Linked DNA regions of Homo sapiens: all the other regions are linked to region 3. Evidence: promoter capture Hi-C in human tissues and cell types (Jung and others, 2019). All regions are on one chromosome and are shown on one strand. The core of a region is centred on a gene start or on the middle of the fragment in contact, and the rest is flanking DNA. Distances in the headings are between cores, read along the strand shown.

Evidence for each region. Contacts are between HindIII fragments. The study calls those that stand out against the background at their distance.
Region 1: the fragment with the promoter of SGTA here is called in contact with the fragment with the promoter of AMH in region 3 in 1 of the 25 tissues and cell types used here (IMR-90 fibroblasts).
Region 2: a fragment that was not itself captured here is called in contact with the fragment with the promoter of AMH in region 3 in 1 of the 25 tissues and cell types used here (dorsolateral prefrontal cortex).

What each region holds. Positions count from the first base shown.
Region 1 is chr19:2,781,602-2,784,541 of GRCh38, reverse strand. SGTA (small glutamine rich tetratricopeptide repeat co-chaperone alpha) reads left to right here and starts at 1,269. Exons shown (of 12, transcript NM_003021.4): 1 at 1,269-1,309. RefSeq lists enhancers at 838-907, 2,404-2,503 and a silencer at 1,298-1,347. The HindIII fragment of the contact is 32,124 bases long and covers 1-2,940 here.
Region 2 is chr19:1,606,034-1,608,733 of GRCh38, reverse strand. No RefSeq gene overlaps it. Among named protein-coding and RNA genes, the nearest start is that of UQCR11, 1.9 kb to the right of the region's middle. RefSeq lists enhancers at 63-132, 163-212, 1,695-2,316. The HindIII fragment of the contact is 3,073 bases long and covers 1-2,700 here.
Region 3 is chr19:2,247,873-2,250,572 of GRCh38, reverse strand. AMH (anti-Mullerian hormone) reads right to left here and starts at 1,250. Exons shown (of 5, transcript NM_000479.5): 1 at 829-1,250; 2 at 94-236. The coding sequence starts at 1,240. SF3A2 (splicing factor 3a subunit 2) reads right to left here. Exons shown (of 9, transcript NM_007165.5): 9 at 1,918-2,700. The coding sequence ends at 2,027. RefSeq lists promoters at 1,241-1,272, 1,241-1,450, 1,241-1,520, 1,272-2,700, 1,241-2,700 and an enhancer at 1,168-1,307. The HindIII fragment of the contact is 11,600 bases long and covers 1-2,700 here.

The DNA of each region.
Region 1 (2,940 bases), core at 20-2,519, 530 kb before region 3:
TTTTGTTTTCTTTTGCTTTGGAGGGGCTGGAGGGAGTCTCGCTCAGTCGCCCAGGCTGGAGTGCAATGGCGCGATCTCGGCTCGCTGCAACCTCTGCCTCTCGGGTTCAAGCGATTCTCCTGTCTCAGCGTCCCGAGTAGCTGGGACTACAAATGCCCGCACCACGCCCGGCTAATTTTTGCATTTTTAGTAGATACAGGGTTTCACCGTGTTGGCCAGGCTGGTCTCGAACTCCTGACATCAAGTGATCTGCCCCCTGGCCTCCCAAAGTGCTGGGATTACAGGCGTGAGCCACCACGGCCGGCCTCACCTCCTTTATTTCTGCAAAAGAAATTAAAATAATCCACGCCATTAATCGTGCATGTATTTTGAGTAGGACGAAAATGAATTGGGAGAACATTTCTGGCAACTGTAACTTAGATGGTGATCAGTTTTCTGTCGTCCTTGGAAATGTCTCATCACATGTCTTGAGCAACACCAAGATTAATTTTACATCGGCGTTCATTTTCGCTGTTCCCTGTGCCTGGGGTCCGTTTGGACTTTCCTATCCTTGAAATCCAAATGTAAAGGATGATCTTTCCTACCCATCCCATGCGACTTAGCTCCCAGTGACAATCACACTACCTTCATTTTTTTTTTCTTAGTGTTTGCTGTGAAATTTGTTTCTCTATTTATGTACTAGTTTATTAGTTTATAGTCCGTCTACCCCAATGCAAAATAATGAGAGTAGACACTTTGCTGGTTTTTATGGCTGCTTTGCAATAAATATTGAATGAATATTAGGCACCTGCTGTCTACAAATGGCTCTATACTCACAAACGTCTCACACTGCATGAAAGAATGCATTTGTGGGTGAGTAGATGGGTGGGTGAATAAATGAACAAAGATAGTAAGCGGGTAACACTGACTCCCATTCATTGCGCAGCTGTGACGCTCTGGAGTCCAGGTGTCCAAACGCGGCTGCACCACGTGGCCGGCCCAGCACCACGTGGTCAGCTCGGCGACCGGCTGGAGTCAGCCACTGTTCCACCGTGCACCGCTTCATTCCCGCTCTAGAGGGCAAACCAGACCCGATTTCCGGCCTCCATTAGGTCGCAGAGGTCAGTTGCCCTAACAACCAGCTGGTTCCCGCCTCTACGTTGCGTCACTTCCTTCCACGCCCGCCTCCATCATTAACGCGCCTGTGCAGAAGGGAAGCAACTCCGGGCGCCTTTCTTTTGCGCAGGCGTCGCGCCCTGGGGCCGGGGCCGGGCGGCACCGCGGTGCGCAAGCGCAACCGTCGGTGGGTCGGGGATCGGTCGCCTGAGAGGTGAGTGAGGGGCACTGCGCTGAGCCTGGTGGGTCTGGGGTCTGCGGCTCGGGGCCCACGGGGCCCCAAAGCTCGTAAGAGTTTGGGGATCGTGAGGCCAGGGTCACCGCGACCCGCGGGGTCCTGTGAGTAGGCGGTGCGGAGGGGAAACTGAGGCCGGGCGCCATCGGGCAGGCCCTTCGAGCCCTGATCTCCCTTCCCCAGGCCCCAGGTCCTGGAAATGCTGGTCCGCGGCCTGGTGGCGAGGACGGCGGGAGGGGAAGGCGCCCCGCATGTAGTGAGCGCTCGCTGGGTGTTCGCTGCCGTTCCGCTCTTATTAACCGCCTGGAAACGTCGTCCCTGTGACTCAGGGACCCCCGTTTGTGGGGACTGAAGTCGGAACTCTGGTTCCAGCGCCGCCAGTCCCTACCTGGGTGACCTTGCCCAGCCTCTTGGCTTCTCGGAGCCTCAGTTTTCCCCTCTGTAAAACGGGCGTTGTTCAAAAGTCCCTGCCTAGGAGAAGGAGAGCCGCAGGGTCCAGCGGAATCTGAGAACTCCAAAGAATTAGCAGGCGTTCGTCTTATATCATGTTTAGAGTCTTCTTCTGCATATCGTGCTAGAGGTGGGGGAAATCTGGGATTCAGGACCGTCCACCACCACCTCCCACCCGCTGTGTAAACCTGGGTGAGTCGCCTTCCCTCTCTGAGCAAACTGTTCCTTCTTTCGCAAACGAGTTGTAAAAGCAGATGCCTCGGAGGGTCATTATGAGGATAAACCCACATTCAATTATTTGATCAGGTGCCTGGAACTTGATAAGAGAGAGCTGGCTTGAGAATAGCTGTTTTTGTTATTAGGTGCCAGAAAATTGCAGTGTAGTGTGCCCTTCAGAGGTTGAATGATTGTCCCATTTTCTTTTGTTTCTGTCTCTGATTATTCCTTTTGTCTGCCTTTTCCCTCCCTTGACCAGTGGTTCTCAACCAGGAACAATTCTGTGCCCCAGGGATTCTTGGTGACATTTGTGCTTGTCATGATTTGGGGGACCCCCTGGTTTGGAGTTGGTGGAGGCCAGGGTTGCTGCTCGGCACCCTGCAGTACCCAGGACGGCCTCACCCCAGAAAATGATCCAGCTTTAAATGTCAATAATGCTTTAAAAACCCTACCATACGGGCTGATGACCTGAGGTCAGGAGTTCAAGACCAGCCTAGCCAACGTGGTGAAACCCCGTCTCTACTGAAAATATGAAAATTAGCTGGGCATGGTGGTGTGCACCTGTAATCCCAGCTACTCAGGAGGCTGAGGCAGGAGAATCCCTTGAACCCAGGAGGCAGAGGTTGCAGTGACCCAACATCATGCCACTGCACTCCAGCCTGGGCGACAGAGCGAGACCCTGTCAAAAATAAAAAAAAAAAATCTACCCTAGATCAGTGATTCTTCACCAGCATGGGCAGCTGGGACTGTGTGGGCCCGGGAAATCGTGTACAAAGTTTTGTGTGTGCACCCAATTTCGTGCAGAGAGAAATGGGTACTTTGGAGTTTAGCTTCTCAAGTCAGACTGCCTGGGTTCAGAACTCCTCATTTTCATCCTCGGAGCTGGGTGGTCTCGGGTGGTCCCCATCTTTCCAAGCCTCAGTTTTTCTTCTGTGGAATGGGGA
Region 2 (2,700 bases), core at 127-2,626, 640 kb after region 3:
CTCATCCCAAAGTGCCCACTGGCAGGCATCTGCTGCTGTGCCCAGGGACTTGGCCGCTGCATCTCTGCGAGGACACAGCTGGACTGCCCTGCTCCCCTACAGGGTTGGGGTGGAAGGAGTGCCTTCCTGGCCACTTGACGGGGGGTGGCCCCCAGGAGAGAGCCCTTTGGCACACAAGTGCCTTAGGGAGGAGAAGGCTCAGCACAGTGACTCATATCTGTAATCCCAGCACTTCAGGTGGCTGAGGCGGGAGGATCGCCTGAGGCCAGGAGTTCCAGTCCAGCCTGGGCAACATAGTGAGACCCCATGTCTATAATTTTTAAGGGAAAGAGAGTGGCCAGGAGTTGACAGAAGGTGCTGAGGGAGCCCTGTCCACCACTCTACCCAGCTGGCCTCTAAATTCATGCTGGAAAACAACTTTTAAAATATACATTGGCCGGGCGCGGTGGCTAACGCCTGTCATCCCAGCACTTTGGGAGGCTGTGGCGGGTGGATCACTTGAGGTCAGGAGTTCGAGACCGGCCTGGCCAACATGGCGAAATCCCATCTCTACTAAAAATACAAAAATTAGCCGGGCATGGTGGCGCAAGCCTGTAATCCCAGCTATTTGGGAGGCTGAGGCAGGAGAATAGCTTGAACCCAGGAGGCAGGGATTGCAGTGAGCTGAGATTGCACCACTGCACTCTAGCCTGGGCGACAGAGCGAGACTGTCTCAAAAAATCAAAATTAAATTGGTTGTACCTGGTGACACACACTTGTAGTCCCAGCTACTTAGGAGGTTCAGGTGGGAGGATCGCTTGAGGTGGCAGTGAACTGTGATTGCACCACTGCACTCCAGCCTGGGCAACAGAGCCAGAACCTGTCAAAAAAAAAGGGTGGGCCAGGTGCAGTGGCTCATGCCTGTAATCCCAGCACTTTGGGAGGCCAAGGCGGGCGGATCACGAGGTCAGGAGATCGAGACCATCCTGGCTAACGGTGAAACCCCATCTCTACTAAAAATACAAAAAATTAGCCAGGCGTGGTGGCGGGCACCTGTAGTCCCAGCTACTCGGTAGGCTGAGGCAGGAGAATGGCGTGAACCTGGGAGGCGGAGCTTGCAGTGAGCCAAGATCATACCACTACACTCCAGCCTGCAGCCTGGGCGACAGCAAGACTCCGTTTCAAAAAAAAAGGGTGGAGGGGACATCCAGATGGTCCAACAAAATAACAAAAACCGGCTCAAGAAACAAAAAGGAAGTTCTATGTCATGTTGAATGGCTTCAGGCACAGCTGGATCCAGGTGTCATTACAAATCTCTCTCCATCTCTCAGCTCTTGTTTATGTCACTGTCTCTGATGAACTCTTTTTTTTGTCTGTTTGTTTTGAGACGGAGTTTCACTCTTGTTGCCCAGGCTGCAGTGCAATGGCGTGATCTCGGCTCACCGCAACCTCTGCCTCCCGGGTTTTCAAGCAATTTTCCTGCCTCAGCCTCCCGAGTAGCTGGAATTACAGGCATCCGTCACCATGTCCGGTTAATTTTGTATTTTTAGTAGAGATGGGGTTTCTCCATGTTGGTCACGCTGGTCTCGAACTCCCAGTCTCAGGTGATCTGCCCGCCTCAACCTCCCAAAGTGCTGGGATTATAGGCGTGAGCCACCGTGCCCGGCCACTGGTGAACTCTTACATTGTGGCATCTGGAAACTCTGGGCTGACATTCCAGCAGCCCTTGTGTTCCTGTCCTTTCTCTTAATAGTCTCTGTGTCAGCCCCTGCATCCCACTTTTTTAAGTTTCCACCAATGGGAAGAGTCTTATTCAGGTGCTCTCTGATCCCAAGCTCAAAAACCCCAAGCCAACTGGAAAGTTCTACAAACAATGCCCAGGGCCGGGCCCGGTGGCTTACACCTGTAATCCCAGCATTTTGGGAGGCGGATCACTTGAGGTCAGGAATTCAAGACAAGCCTGGCCAACATGGCCAAACCCCATCTCTACTAAAAATACAAAAACTAGCCAGGTGTGGTGGCTCACGCCTGTAGTCCCAGCTACTTGGGAGGCTGAGGCAGGAGAAGCTTGAACCCGGGAAGCGGAGGTTGCAGTGAGCCGAGATCGTGTCATTGCACTCCAGCCTGGGCCACAGAGCGAGACTCCGTCTCAAAAAAAAAAAGAAAGAAAAACAGTGCCCAGACTGTGGTGTCCAAAACCTATTTCCGGCTCCCACCCTGAGTCCTTAACCAGGGATAGGGATGGGTTAGCACCCGCAGTCCCCAGAGAGCTGCAGGCTTGGGGTGTACTGAGGGGCTGACCCCAGGAGGACAGGCCAGGCTGGGCAGAAGAACCCACGGTGTCCATTCCTTATCACGAGGCCTGCAAGTGACGCTGGCGCCCGAGAGACAAATCACGCCCAGTGCCCCGTCTAGGCTATGGCCTTTCCGTTCATGCTGTAAAGGTGCCTGTGGGTCAGGCAGTCCAGGAGGGCTTCCTGAGGGAGGCAACTCTTGAATATGGGGGAAAAGGCACAAAAGTGCAATGGCGGTGTCTGGGAATATGCCCCTCTTCCTTCTGCCCACACCGGCCCGGTGTGCAGGGGGGAGGCTGGAAGCTGGGAGCTGAGTGAGCATGTACGGTGCTGCGCCGGGTTGTGGGAGAGCAGAGGAAGCAGGGACTGGAGAAAGGCGAGCCCAAGCGAGCCTGGTGCGGTGGAAAGCAGGAGGCAGAAAGACCTG
Region 3 (2,700 bases), core at 1-2,500:
CTGGTTCTACGCTGTTCTCAGTACTGCAGACCCTGCAACAAATCCATGCCCCCCGCCACGGCCCGGGCACTGCCCCATGCAACTCCCTGGTACCTGGGCACCCGGCAGCCCAGCCCTCGTCACAGTGACCTCAGGGCCAGGCCCAGGGTACAGCACCAGCAGCGCCAGCTCTGGGGGGCCAGCTCCTCCAGGCGGGGGCTCCTGGAACCTCAGCGAGGGTGTTGGCTCCCAGGTCACTGCAGCCGGGACAGCAGGGGACGCCTGAGCCATTGAAGGCCACACCCCCCGGGAATCTTTGGGATCTGTCCCTGCCGCTCTGGCCACTGTGCAGGGGACCTCAAGCGGGGGACAAGGGTGCCCCTCTTAGCTGCCTTCCTGCAGCCAGGGAGCGGTGACGGCAGGGGCAGGCAGGGGCTGCGTCTGAGGCTGTGGGTGGGGCTGCCGCCCTGGGGTCTCTGGGTTGGGGTGCCCGATGAAGCCCCTTCCCCGCAGGGAGTATCTTAGGCCAGCGGCCCTGAGAACAGGCTGGGGCTGTGGGAAGAAGGGTTCCACTGGCCCCGAGCCCTGCGTCGTCTTCAGGGGTGGGGAGAAGGCAGCAGCTCTCTCCCTGGCACCGAGGCAGGGGCAAGTCTAAGAGCTGGGCTTCGGGGACAGGACAGAGTGTGGTGCCCACCTTCCAGGCCACGGACCCGCAACCCAGTCCTAGGAACAAGACCACAGCCTCCCTGCCCAGGGTGGGGGCTCTGCCAGCCCCTGATCTTCCCTAGGAGGACCCGGCCCACCTGAAGGAAGACGGCGGTGCCAAGCTTGGGGCTGGGCCCCACATACCTTCCTCCAGGTGTAGGACCACCAGGCGCTGCCCCCCAGGGTCCCGCAGCCAGGCCCCCAGCCGCCGTAGAGAGGGCAAGGCAGCCTGCCTGTCACCGGTGTTGCAGACCCCGAAGGTGGCCAGGTCTCGGGGGCCCCAGCGGGCCCTCTGCACGGCCCCCAGGAAGGCCTGCTCATAGGCGCTTAGAGCCCCCACCACCCGCAGGGGGGAGCTGCTGCCATTGCTGTCCCCGCCCAGTGCCACCAGGCACAGAGGCTCTTGTGGGCTGCCTGGAGGCCAGTCCAAGTCTTCTCGGAAGATGAGGCCACTGGTGCCCACAGCTGGCTCCTCTGCTCTGAGGGCCTCAGTCCCCAGCAGAGCCCCCAGGGCAGACAGCACTAGGGCCAGGCTGGTGAGAGGCAGGTCCCGCATCGTGGGTGCTGCCAGGGGCTGGGCTGCCTGCCTTAAGTGAGCCGAGTGGAAGGTGGGGTGTTTGTGCAGGACAGACCCCTATCTCCTCTGCCGCGACCTTGGGGGACAGTGCCCGGCGCCCCCACTCCAGGCAGAGTGGCCTTCTCAAAGAGCCCTTTCTGTCCCTGGCAGCCTATCTCCCTCCCCAGTGATAGAGCTGGGCCTGATGTGTCAACATGCCGTCCTTGAGGGCCATCCCCAGAAGACACAGGAGTGGGAACCAGGCTGGGAGTGACGGCCAGGCAACCAAACTAGACAGCGCTGGGGGCGGGGGGCCCAGATGTCCTGGGTGCTGAGGTGTGGGCCTGGAGGAGGAGGGTCCCAAGTCAGTGGGGGCGCCCTGTCCCTGCTCACCCTCCCCACCCCTGGTGGGCTATCTGGAGACCCCAAGGATATCGTGGAGTCTGCTCTTCCCTCCCCAGAACAGGACCCCAGATCCCCTCCTAGCTGGCTGGTGGGGTCTGTCCTCCACCAGGCCATCTCCAAGGTACAGCCATCTCTCAGGCCTCCCACAGGTGTCTCCTGGCGGGCCCCAGGCCCTCCCCAGTCGGCCCAAACTGGGGGATGGTGCTGTGCCTGGCACTCCCACACACACTGACACAGTAGGGCGGCGCTGCGGACATCAGTGCACTCAGGGCTGGGGGAGGCTGTTTAATGAGCGGGGGGCAGTACAAAAGAGCAGCCTTCTCTCAGTGGGAAAAGGCAAGAGCACCTGGCGCTGGGCTTGCTGGGGGAGGGAGCAGCTTCTCAGTTGGTTGGGGGAGGGGGAGGTATGTTCCCTGGGCCTTCGGAGGGAAGTGGGGGCCTCAGCATTGGGGGCATGGGAGTTGGGGGGTGCACCCCAGGATTTGAGGGGTGAACTCCCGGAGGCTGAGGGTGGACCCCAGGAGCCGACGGATGGACCCCGGGAGGTTGGGGGTGGACCCCCGGGGCCTGAGGGTGCATCCCTGGGGCTGGTGGGTGCACCCCTGGGGCCTGAGGGTGAACGGCGGGGGCTGCTGGGTGCACCCCCGGGGCCTGGGGGTGAACCCCCGCTGATGGGGGAGGATGGACCCCTGGGGCTGGTGGGTGAACCCCAGGGGCTGGTGGGTGGACTCCGGGGGCTGGTGGGTGAACCCCGGGGGCTGGAGGGTGGACTCCAGGAGCTGGGGGGTGGACCCCAGAGGTTGGTGGGTGGACCCCAGGGGCTGGGGGATGGACGCCAGGAGCTGGGGGGTGGACGCCAGGAGCTGGGGGATGGACCCCAGATGCAGGGGGATGCACCACTGGGGCCGGGGGGTGGACCCCTGGAGCTGGCGGGGGTAGCTGGGGTGGTCCCGGGGGCCCTGAGGGCGCAGGCCCTGTGGGGGGCATGGGTGGCAGAGGCAGGCCTCCTGGCGGGGGCGGTGGCAAAGACTCAGGCAGCGGTGGCCGAGGGGGCA